Linked DNA regions of Homo sapiens: regions 1 and 3 are each linked to region 2. The links are contacts of gene promoters, found by promoter capture Hi-C in human tissues and cell types (Jung and others, 2019). All regions are on one chromosome and are shown on one strand. The core of a region is centred on a gene start or on the middle of the fragment in contact, and the rest is flanking DNA. Distances in the headings are between cores, read along the strand shown. Region 1 overlaps PLEKHA6 (pleckstrin homology domain containing A6). Region 2 holds the start of SNRPE (small nuclear ribonucleoprotein polypeptide E). Region 3 overlaps PLEKHA6 (pleckstrin homology domain containing A6).

The links. The method cuts DNA at HindIII sites, captures the fragments that hold promoters and counts their contacts. A contact is called where the count stands out against the background at its distance.
Region 1: a contact is called between a fragment that was not itself captured here and the fragment with the promoter of SNRPE in region 2, in 1 of the 25 tissues and cell types used here (IMR-90 fibroblasts).
Region 3: a fragment that was not itself captured here is called in contact with the fragment with the promoter of SNRPE in region 2 in 1 of the 25 tissues and cell types used here (IMR-90 fibroblasts).

The regions. Positions count from the first base shown.
Region 1 is chr1:204,323,509-204,327,007 of GRCh38, reverse strand. The region is part of intron 1 of PLEKHA6 (pleckstrin homology domain containing A6); the gene reads left to right. Among named protein-coding and RNA genes, the nearest start is that of PLEKHA6, 35 kb to the left of the region's middle. The HindIII fragment of the contact is 5,474 bases long and covers 1-3,499 here.
Region 2 is chr1:203,859,536-203,862,965 of GRCh38, reverse strand. It overlaps SNRPE (small nuclear ribonucleoprotein polypeptide E), which reads right to left and starts at 1,367. Exons shown (of 5, transcript NM_003094.4): 1 at 1,253-1,367; 2 at 744-770. The coding sequence starts at 1,306. RefSeq lists enhancers at 262-837, 1,223-1,482, 1,291-1,585. The HindIII fragment of the contact is 11,861 bases long and covers 1-3,430 here.
Region 3 is chr1:204,244,291-204,248,185 of GRCh38, reverse strand. It overlaps PLEKHA6 (pleckstrin homology domain containing A6), which reads left to right. Exons shown (of 23, transcript NM_014935.5): 13 at 726-821; 14 at 2,460-2,571; 15 at 3,183-3,322. Among named protein-coding and RNA genes, the nearest start is that of GOLT1A, 32 kb to the right of the region's middle. The HindIII fragment of the contact is 7,881 bases long and covers 1-3,895 here.

The sequences.
Region 1 (3,499 bases), core at 134-2,633, 460 kb before region 2:
CAAATCCCTACTACAGAGGCTGCCGTACCCAGCGCGCTTCTGCCTGGACCACTCCCTGCCTAAGTGCGGAGGCCCCAGGGTTTGGGCAGTGAGCAGTTCCTCACCCTATTTGGATCATATAGGAAGGAGGGAGCTAGTCTAAGGATGATGAAAGGCAGTGAATGCTGAGTGAGGTCAAGTCCTAGTGCTGAGCTCCATACTGGCACACAGAAGGCACTCATAAAATATATATGGAATGAATGAATGAACCAACCAACCAAGGAGAAGGAAAGGGGTTTGATTACATTTATCCTCCGACTCTTAATTCTCTAGCTTAATCCCTAGCAGTCAGATTTAGGGCTTGGACAGCAAAAATTATTTGCTAGAAATGTGTTGTGAGAGGGTGTAAGGCTCAATGATCTATCACCTGGAGCACTGCTTTGTGAATTAATTAACCAGGCTTTTGGTTCTCTTCTTTCTCTTTTGTCTCCATGCCTCTGTGGTGCTCACTTGGGTTTGGGAGGTGGCATGGACTGGGGCAGCCATGCAAAGTCTTGTTAGAATGAGAGCTGGGAAGCCTCTGTCTATCTGTGCTCTCATGGCCCTTTTTGGGTTCTGAATATGGGTCTCGATTGTCTCTGTTTCTTTGCCAGTGCTTTGCACATAGTGGGCACTGATAGAACATTTGATGAGCTAAGACGTGACCGTGTGTTGGCACAGGCAGGAGGGAGAAGCTTCACTCTCCTGGCTGGTTGGGTCTAAGGGAGAGAGGAGCTGAGTGTCTACTTGTGCCCTCTGGTCTTCACAAACTGAAGGGCACTGTTGGAGCCGGGCTCTGTTTCAGCTGGCAGAAGGGGGCATGGAACTGGAGCTGCCCTCAGCCATGGAGAAAGTTGGCCACAGCAGGACTGGACACGTGGAGTGCTCAGAGCCTGCCTCACAAAGCAGCTTAGGAGAAAATTAAGTGGTCTCAAGCCAGGGGAAGCATGGCTCCCTGTGCTGGATGCATTAGGGAGACGGCTGGGCAGGGTGAGGAATGGGGCTTGCTGTGGGCAGAGGGACTCTGCCCCTTTTGTGTTCAGCCCAGTCTATATGTTAATGGCAGCCCAGCGGTGCTTGGCTTTGGCAGCCTGGAAATGGCAGCTACTACTTCTCCCCATGCTGCCCTTCCACCCCTTGTTCGCCTGGGCCCTGAGATCTCTGCAGGACTAAGTGACCTTAGGGACAGGCAGAGTAGAGTCTTGCGCCAAGGCCTCCTGGGTTTGTTCACAGGCTACTCTAAGAAGCCACCAATAAGGAACTTTCTCAGGGCTCAGGGTCCTGAGCACCTTTAGAAGTTTCTAATAGGATTTTGTCTTCCAGATAGGAAGGAAAACCCATCCAGATCTTATAGAGGAACCAAAGCCCAGCGAGGCAGGTACTTGCCCACAGTAACGTGTGTGCTGAGGGCTCACCAAGCAGGCAGCTGGGCATTCGGGCTCCTAGTCCTGGGACCTGAGCTCTCAATATTTCTGAGCATGAAGATCTCATGTGGTGCCCATTGGTTCTTTGTCAAACCAGATATTTATTTACGTGAGTTCTTTGGTAGGACAACCAATTTTTCTCAGTGTGCCTGAGACTGTCCCGGTTTGAGCACTGAAAGTCCTGGGCAAACTGGGACAGTTGACCACCATGTCCCTAAGGATTCTCCCCCTGGCAGCCCTCTAAACCCAGTTTGCATTTCTCTTTATTGCTTTAATTGCAGGAAACATTTCTTCCTGGCATTCGTTTTCTATGGGCTGACCCCAGAGAGCTGAACTTGTAGATAACTGGGAAGTAACGTTGCCTACCCAAGGTGCCTGACACTAGACTTTCCTATCTCTCAGGAGCTCTAAGACAATCAAAATAGTTGCATCTCTCTAAATGCAATTGGGGTAACTGAAGTACAGTGTGGAGGTGGCTCCTGCCTCTCCCTTGCTGAAAGCTCTGATCAAATTCTGTATTCCTGGGAGGCTGAGGCAGGAGAATGGCGTGAACCTGGGAGGTGGAGCTTGCAGTGAGCTGAGATCACGCCACTGCACTCCAGCCTGGGCAACAAAGTGAGACCCCATCTCAAAAATAAATAAATAAATAAATAAAATTCTGTATTCCTGCATCTCCTCTCTTCTAAGTAACTCAGGCATCATGTGATCTCCAGTCTCCTTTATCCAACACAGTCCCTAAGCCAAAGGACAAAGACACAAACAGGTGACCCAATACCCTTTTAATGAATGGAGAAACTGATATCTATGGAAGGTTTAGTAAGCTATTGGCCTCAGGTCAGATAAAAACACCAGGATCCTAATCGACTTCCAATTCAGCACCTTTAGACATAAAGCCTTCAGCTTTTGTGACTTCTGGAATAGTCTCTCCACTTTCACTCATTTCTTCTGAATTGTATCCCTCTCAGATAAGACTTTGTCAGAGAAACTCAACCTCAGAGAAAACTGTTTCTAAGTTCTCTTCATTTGGTTCCTTTCCTTGTCTTATTGATGGTGAGACATTTCTGTCTCATCACGAGCTGCCTCTCTAATGGGGGCTGCAAAGTAGCCAGAGCTGGAGTTTCCTATTGCCCAGCCCTGCCCTTCGTATCCTATCCCATAAAGGGCTTATTCATTGAGGCCCCTTTCTTTATCCTATTTATAAATCTTTTCAGCATGTCTTTGTGCCCAGTGACAAACCCTATTCTATCCTCTACTTCAGCCTTTGAGATACTAAAAATTTCCTTCCATCTTCAAAATCCCTTCACGATCCATAGCCCTGACTCTTACCAGGGATGCCTGGCAATCAAAGTCAGAGCAATCAAAGTCAGATTCTGGGATGTGGACCCCAAAGAGGGCTCCTGAAGTCCTCGTGCAGCTGAAACACATCCCTACTGGCTGGACTTTTACTGCACTTCATCATAGCTAGGAGTGACTCATGCAGACTCAAGCAGAACCTTGGGGCCCAGGGCAGAAGTGTGACTTCAGGTCTCACTCAGCACTCATCAGAACACTCACTCAGTATGCTTGTAATTAGAATTGAGTGATCTCATGGATGAACTGTACTGGGCTAACTTGAAGAGCACAGCTCTGGAGTCAGTCTGCCCAGGTCCTTTCCAAGTCCTGCCACTCCATCCTCAAGCAGGATATTTAACCTGATTTTGTCTCAGGTTCCTCATCTTAAAACAGAGGTCATAACAACAACCATCTCAAAAGGCTGTTGTGAAGATCAAATGAGTTGCATTTAGAATTATGCCTCACACAAGTATGCACTCAATAGATAGCTATTATTATAATACTAGGTAGCTTACACCCTCTGCCATTTACCTCTCTAGTAAGCTGTTTATTCATTTGACAAACACATACTGAGCACCTATTATGCACCAGGAATACAAGTACAACCTTGTTGAAGCTTTCCAGTTACACAAGCAGTTTATAATGCCCTCTAATTTCACATTAGCTTTCTTTCTTCCGAAATGTCCATTTGGCTGTGACAGCAGTTGAGAAGTCATCACTTTGGT
Region 2 (3,430 bases), core at 118-2,617:
TCTTACTGCTTCTGGTCTCAATCTATTAAGAGTGAAAGTTTTTGACAGCATAGCACAAAGCAGTAATTTCTAATGACCAAGGGCTTATCTCCTGCAGCAAAATCCAGTTCCAAAACAAAGCCTTCTCATGTCACACACCTAACAACTAGGACAGGAGCCCTCAATTCAGGTGGTTAAGAATTATTATCACCTGAAATTAATGTTTTTCAGTTGTGTTATCACACTATAAAATTTAAGTTGCTAAAATTTCCCTCAAAGGAAAGCAGCTGCCACTAAACTCCTCTGAAGCTACCCCTTCTCTCTTCCTTTTTTCGTCTTTAAGTTTTCCCACAGGTATTAAACACACCACCTCTTGACATGGTTTAAGTTGGCTGGGTTTTTCTTCCAATGTTTCATCCTAAAGGGGAGAGGTTCCAATGTTCTAGCCATAATCACTACTAACAAAACTACTGATGCCCAAATACCATGGTCAAGTCTGCTAATAATACTTTTTGGAATTAAAAAGTATTTTTGATCTTGCAAAGTAATGGATACAATTCTTTGCATGTTGGGAAGTGGCATGGATACACACCACTTCATCACATTAGTGCTTTCTAAGTACTCCTTCCCCTCAATTACCCTCCAATCTCCAGTTACATCTATTTTTAAATTCTAGAACACAGCGATCGCTCAGGTTAACACAAAAAACTAAATCAGTTCACCTCTTATTTAAAAAGTAGTTACGAAACAAGCAACTTACGTACATTTTGTAAGTATCTGAAGATGAGGTTCTGCACCACAGTGGCTAAGGAAAAAATACAAAAGCAGCATAGACTCTGCTTCCTGAAACAACCGGACGACGCTATTCCCGTCTCACCTTTGTTTACTAAACGCGAGGTCTGGTGCTTACGCAAACAACAAGTGCCCAGCTGGGCATTCGTTACGGGTCTTCTAAAGACTAAAGAACATCCATTCCACTTTCATCCCCCTGGAGTTTCCCAAAACCGTTAACTCCCGTTTTCACTCCGCACCTGAAGTTCTCTTCCCTCCTTTTGCCGCGTCCATTCCTGCATTCCCCACGGCAGGGGTCCCCCCAAGACCACCTCCCCACCATCACGGTTCAACTACCCGCGCTTTCTTCCAGTCTTGGTAGCCCCGGGGGCTCATGGGATGTGGATCCGTACTCCACTATCCCAGGCCTGCCCTCAGCCTGCGCCTTCGCACCCCGTATTCTGACCCGAACCTCCTAGTCCTGACATCCTGCGTAGGATACGATGGGCTGCACCATAACCTTCTGCACTTTCTGACCCTGGCCACGGTACGCCATGGTGGAATTTCACAAAGAGCACACCCGCACGCTGCCTCTGAGAGCAACTTCCGGAATAAAGAACCGGAAGCGGAAGTGTGAAGGTCACGCGGCGGCATGGGCGGCTCCTGGGAAATGCCCCTCTAGCCATGAAGTCACGTTTCTTCGCTGCATGGCCTCCGAGGGAGGCCAAACTGAGGCGTCTGCGCTGTGGAAGGTGGGCCGGTCCTACAGCGCCACCTGGAGGGAGGCGGGAGGAGGTGCCTTCGGTTGTATAGTGGCCGTGGTAGGAGGAGTGCCGTCCTGTCTCCAATTTCTTTTCTTTTTTTTTTTTTGAGGCGAAGTCTCGCTCTGTCGCCCAGGCTGGAGTGCAGTGGCGCGATTTCAGCTCACTGCAACCTCAGCCTCCAGGGTTCAAGCGATTCTCCTGCCTCAGCCTCCCGAGTAGCTGGGACTACAGGCGCCTGCCACCACGTCCGACTAATTTTTTGTGTTTTTAGTAGAGACGGGGTTTCACCATGTTGGCCAGGATGGTCTCGATCTCCTGACCTCATGATCCGCCCGCCTCGGCCTCCCAAAGTGCTGGGATTACAGGCGTAAGCCACCGCGCCCGGCCTGTATCTCCATTTTCTGAGTTAGCTTGAAAAGCCAAAATCGTCCCAGTGTGTATCTCTATGTGTAAAATGAGTTAATTTCGTGCCTTTCCTAAAGCCTATTTTGCTGGAGTTTAGGCTTGATAGCAGCGTTGTGGTGGAAAGGGTAGGGCGGCAAGGAGCCCAAACTTCAGGCCTCCCACCTCTGGCAGTCGGCCAGAGGCGGTCTGCATTCCAAAGCCAGACGCCTGGTTCCCTCCAGTTACGGATTCAATTCTCATCCATTTCGTGGAGAGTTACTGTTCAGGTGGCAACTGAGGGTGGCGATTTACCAGGAAGACGCTGAAATCCACATGCTGGGCGCAAATCCAGCTCTTTTAGAGTTGGTGACCAAGGATAAATTACTCAGCCTCGCCATGTCTTGGCTTAGTTTCCAAAACGGAGATTATAGTAAAGATTAACTTTACTCAGGGGCTTAAAGATTCAATGAAATAATTGTCTATGTGTGCACACAGTTAGGCGTCAGCCAGTGTCAGAACATGTCCTTCCCTGGATAACACAGCTACTAAGTGGAGCAGCTGGAATTTGTAGGTGTGCCTGACCCCAAAGTCCACCTACCTTTCCATTGTGTCATGGCTTGTGGCCTGGCAGAGATTTCACTTAATTGGCATACACATGTTATAGAGGAGGAAACTGAAGTTTAGACTTTTGAAAGGACTTGCCTAAGGGAACACGGATTAGGGCAAATGGCAGAATCAAAATTAGCTTTTCTGAGGGCTTCTGTTTAATGGGGATAATAGTAATAACGACTTCAGAAAGGGGTTGAGTTGAAAGTGATTTTTAAACTACACAAAGCGGCCAGGCTCACGCCTGTAATCCCAGCATTTTGGGAGGCCGAGGCAGGTGGATCAACTGAGGTCAGGAGTTCGAGACCAGCCTGGGCAACATGGTGAAACCTTGTCTCTACTAAAAATACAAAAATTAGCCATGCATGGTAGCACATGCCTGTAATCCCAGCTACTTGGGAGACTGAGACAGGAGAATCACTTGAACCCAGGAGGCAGAGGTTGCAGTGAGCCGAGATCATGCCACTGCACTCCAGCCTTGGTGACGGAGCGAGACTCCGTCTCAAAAAAATAAATAAGAATAAATAAATAAATAAACTACACAAAGCTGGCAAATGCATGGGATAACTATTTCCTTTAAAAAATTTCAGCCAGGGCTGGGCACAGTGGCTCATGCCTGTAAATCCCAGCACTTTGGGAGGCTGAGGCAGGCAGATCACAAGGTCAGGAGTTTGAGACCAGCCTGGCCAATATGGTGAAACCCCGTCTCTATTAAAAATACAAAAATTAGCTGGGCGTAGTGGTAGGCGCCTGTAGTCCCATCTACTCAGGAGGCTGAGGCAGGAGAATTGCTTGAATCTGGGAGGCAGAGGTTGCAGTGAGCCGAGATCGCGCCACTGCACTCCAGCCTGGGTGACAGAGCAAGACTCTGTCTCAAAGAAAAAAAAAAAAAAATTTCAGCCAGGTGCGCGAGCTCATGCCTGTAA
Region 3 (3,895 bases), core at 1,007-3,506, 380 kb before region 2:
ACTCCATCTCAAAAAAAAAAAAAAAAAAAAGGCTGCTGCCCTGGTCACTACTTCCCAGCAGGTAAGGGCAGACCTTCCGACACAGACTGCTTGGAGAATGGCTCCAAGAAGCAGCAGAAAAAGCCCCGTGAAAGTGTGGCTCGGAAAGGAGGAAGCTCTCTAACCTCTGAATAATAAATATCCTCCTTCAGGCTCTTTTCTCTTTGACCTCCACTTAAATTTTTTTTTTTTTAAGAACAGGGTCTCACTGTGTCACCCAGGCTGGAGTGCAGTAGCACAAACACAGCTCACTGCAATCTTGACCTCCAGGGCTCAAGTGATCTCCTGCCTCAGCCCCCAAGTCGCCAGGACTACAGGGGTGCGCCACCATGCCCAGCTAACTTTTGTAATTTGTAGAGATGGGGTCTTGTCATTTTCCCCAGGCTATGCCCTCTACTTTTTATCCGCTGATCTGGGGAGAATAGGAGGGTATGGAAGTGATATCATCCCTCTCCATTTTCTCTTTATTTCAGTTGGTGGTGGGATGGGCTGTTACATCTCTTGTAAGGCTAGTGTTTGGCTGTCACCAGAATGTCTCAGCCTGGTGCCCCTCTCCTTCGGTCCCTCCATGCCCTCTTCCCCAGATCTTTGTGCCTCTGGTACCCTGGCCCCAGGGTCCATTGCAGGATAAGGAGGAATGCCTTGGTGATGGCGGCTTTCTCAGTGAACGCCTCTTTCCCCCGTAGGCCCTGACAAACAGCACCATAGAGTATGAGCACCTCGAGTCTGAGGTCTCTGCCCTGCACGATGACCTCTGGGAGCAGCTCAATTTGGACACCCAGGTGAAGAAGGGCCCCTGAGCTGGCGGGGATTGGGATGTGACTAAAGATGAGGAGTTGGCCTCGAGACAAAAGCAAAGGTTCCGGCCATTGATAACAGACTCTAAGTTTCAGGATGAAGATAATGGGACGCTTTAGGTTCATCTCACAGGGGAAGGAGTTAAAGCTGAAGCTTGGGAGACTTCAGTTAGACACAGGTGTTTTATGACTGAAAGGATTTTTTTTCCTCTTGGGATGGGGTCTTGCTCTGTTGCCCAGGTTGGAGTGCAGTGGCGCAGTCACAGCTCACTGCAGCCTTGACTGCCCCGGGCTCAAGCAATCCTCCCACCTCAGCCTCCTGAGTAGCTGGGACCACAGTCATGAACCACCATGCTTGGCTAGTTTTTGTATTTTTTGTAGAGTCAGGGTCTCCCTGTGTTGGCCGGGCTGGTCTCTAACTCCTGAGCTCAAGTGATCCTCCTGCCTCAGACTCCCAAACTGCTGGGATTACAGGCATGAGCCACTGTGCCCAGCAGGATTTAAAAACAGACGTGTAAATATAAATAACTCAGGCATTAGAAGAGTAGGCGCTGCGGGAGCAATCTGCTCAGGAATTTTTAGATAGGAGAGAGGCTTTTCTTCCTGGGGTGGGTTAGAAACAGTCTGCCTGGAGGCAGGAGGATTGACATGATGATCTTGGGGAGTTCTTGTTCTTTTCTTCCCTCTGCCTTTTCTTCACCCAGGCCCTGCCTCTTCTCTAGCTAGTTTGCAAGCCCTGTCTCTCTGATGCAGTTAACACCCTGGTTTCCCCCATTTTCTTCTGTTTCCCTCCTGGTAATGCTACTCACCACCCCTACCTTGCAGCTGGTTAGGTAGGGTGAAGACCCACCTGGTCCAGAAGACCCAAATACCACCATGTCCCGTGGCCAAGCCTCACTTGAAACACAGACATTTTAGTAGGGGGGATAGGGTTGTGGTCAAGGGCGCTAACTTCGGGTCCAAATAGACCCATATTGAGATGATGGTCATGCTGCTTACTAAATAGATGGCCTTGGGTGTAAGTCTCTTCATCTCTGAAGAGGGGATAGCTGCTGCCCTTATCTCCTAGAGTCATGCAGCCGAAATGAGTTAGCACTGTATATGCAAATTGCTTAGCATAGTGCCTGGTGCTGAGGGATGCTAAATAAATGGGAGGTCTTACCTTTTAGACTGTCAACTGTAATTGAATTCATGACTCTTCAGGCGTACGCTGGGAGTGGGTATTAGAAAAGGGCTGTTTGGATGTGAAGAAAAGCAGTAAAATGGAAGCTCTTGCCCCACGAAAAACAGGATACCATAAAGTGTTCACTTAGATGGGCATTCACTCGAAAACCACCCATCTTTCCCCTGAGGGAGCTCGGAAGGGTGCGTCCTCAGTCTTGGTTCAGAAACTCGGGCAATTCTGGGGTGCCATCTCCTAGAGGCTGAAGAGCAGAGGCAGCCCATGGGAAAGATGACTGCTGGAGGGGCATGTGTGTGTGTGTGTGTGTGTGTGTGTGTGTACACAGGGTGCCTGCCTCCTGCTGGCCCAAAGGGATGTGGGTTCCAAGGGGTCTGGGCTGAGAGAAAGGGCTGGACACTCCTCATGGCCATTTCCTTTGACTCACTGTGTGGCTGCTTCAGAATGAGGTGCTGAACCGGCAAATCCAAAAGGAGATCTGGAGGATCCAGGACGTGATGGAGGGGCTGAGGAAGAACAACCCCTCCCGGGGCACGGACACCGCCAAGCACAGAGGTGGGTGCCTCCTGTGCCAGCCTCCTAGGCTGCCTGCCTCACCAGGAGTGCTCCAGTATTTCTGACCTCCATCCCACTCCTGCCAGCTCACACTGTGTTCAGAGCCAGGCAGGGCCTTCTTGGGACACCAGAATCTTCCCCTGGGTTCTAGGGTGGTAGGTAGGGGTCCCTTACCCCCCACAGAATAGACCAAATAAACAACTCAGAGACACTGTTGACCCTGACACTCTAAAGTCCTCCCCAGAAAAGGTCAAAAGCACCTAAGCCTCCCCAGCCCCCAAGCACATGGGCCCACTTGTGACATGTGACCCCTACCTTAGAGTTTTCCTTGAGCCCTGGGACCTCAGACTGGCTTTCCTTGACACCTCAGGGACAACAGTATCAGTTCCATCTACCGTCTTCCCCACCCAGCACACCTCTCAACAGCCAGCCTGTGGCCCCAGAACCTGTAATGAGCCCCTTTGGCAGGCCCAGGTAGCCCTGAGACACTAAATCTGCCCTTCCACATCCCTGGATCTGGCTTCTCCCTGCCACCTCCACTCACAGTGCCCATCTACCCACCAGGCCGCACCCCTCCTCCATTGCTCACCCATCCCCTTGTTTCCCCCAAGGAGGACTTGGCCCCTCAGCCACCTACAGCTCCAACAGCCCGGCCAGCCCCCTCAGCTCTGCCAGCCTCACCAGCCCCCTGAGCCCCTTTTCACTGGTGTCGGGCTCTCAGGGGTCCCCCACCAAGCCTGGCTCCAACGAGGTAAGTTGAGAAATGGAGTAGAAGGTAGGTGGGGGAGGGAGGACCAGATCCTCGTTTGTCTGAAACTATACAACTTCTGTGCCCATCTCTTCCCCACAGGCCTCCAGCCCTAGTGCTGGAGCTCTTTGTTTAAGGAGGTCATTCTCACACCCCATTTTGTGAACTTCTCTCCAGGTTTCCCCTTTACCTGTTCTCATCTCCATCTGTCATCTTTAGCTCCCTTGCAGTGAAGCCTGTTCCTGGGCACCAGGATGGATAGCAGACAGCATGCATTTCACAAGAATTTAAATCTAGGATGATACCAGGATAGCAACAGGGTTAAGGGTCAGTGTGGGGAGCAGTTTCCTAGTCAGTCAATCAGCAAGTGTTTTCTGGGGCTCGACTGTGGGCATGGGGTACCATGAGGCCCTCTTAGAAAGATACACACGTGGCAGGGTGCGTAATCGTGTAATCCCAGCATTTTGGGAGGCCAAGGCGGGTGGATCGCTAGGTCAGGATATAGAGACTGTCCCGGCCAACATGGTGAAACCCCATCTTTACTAAAAAAAAAAAAAAAATACAAAAATTAGCTGA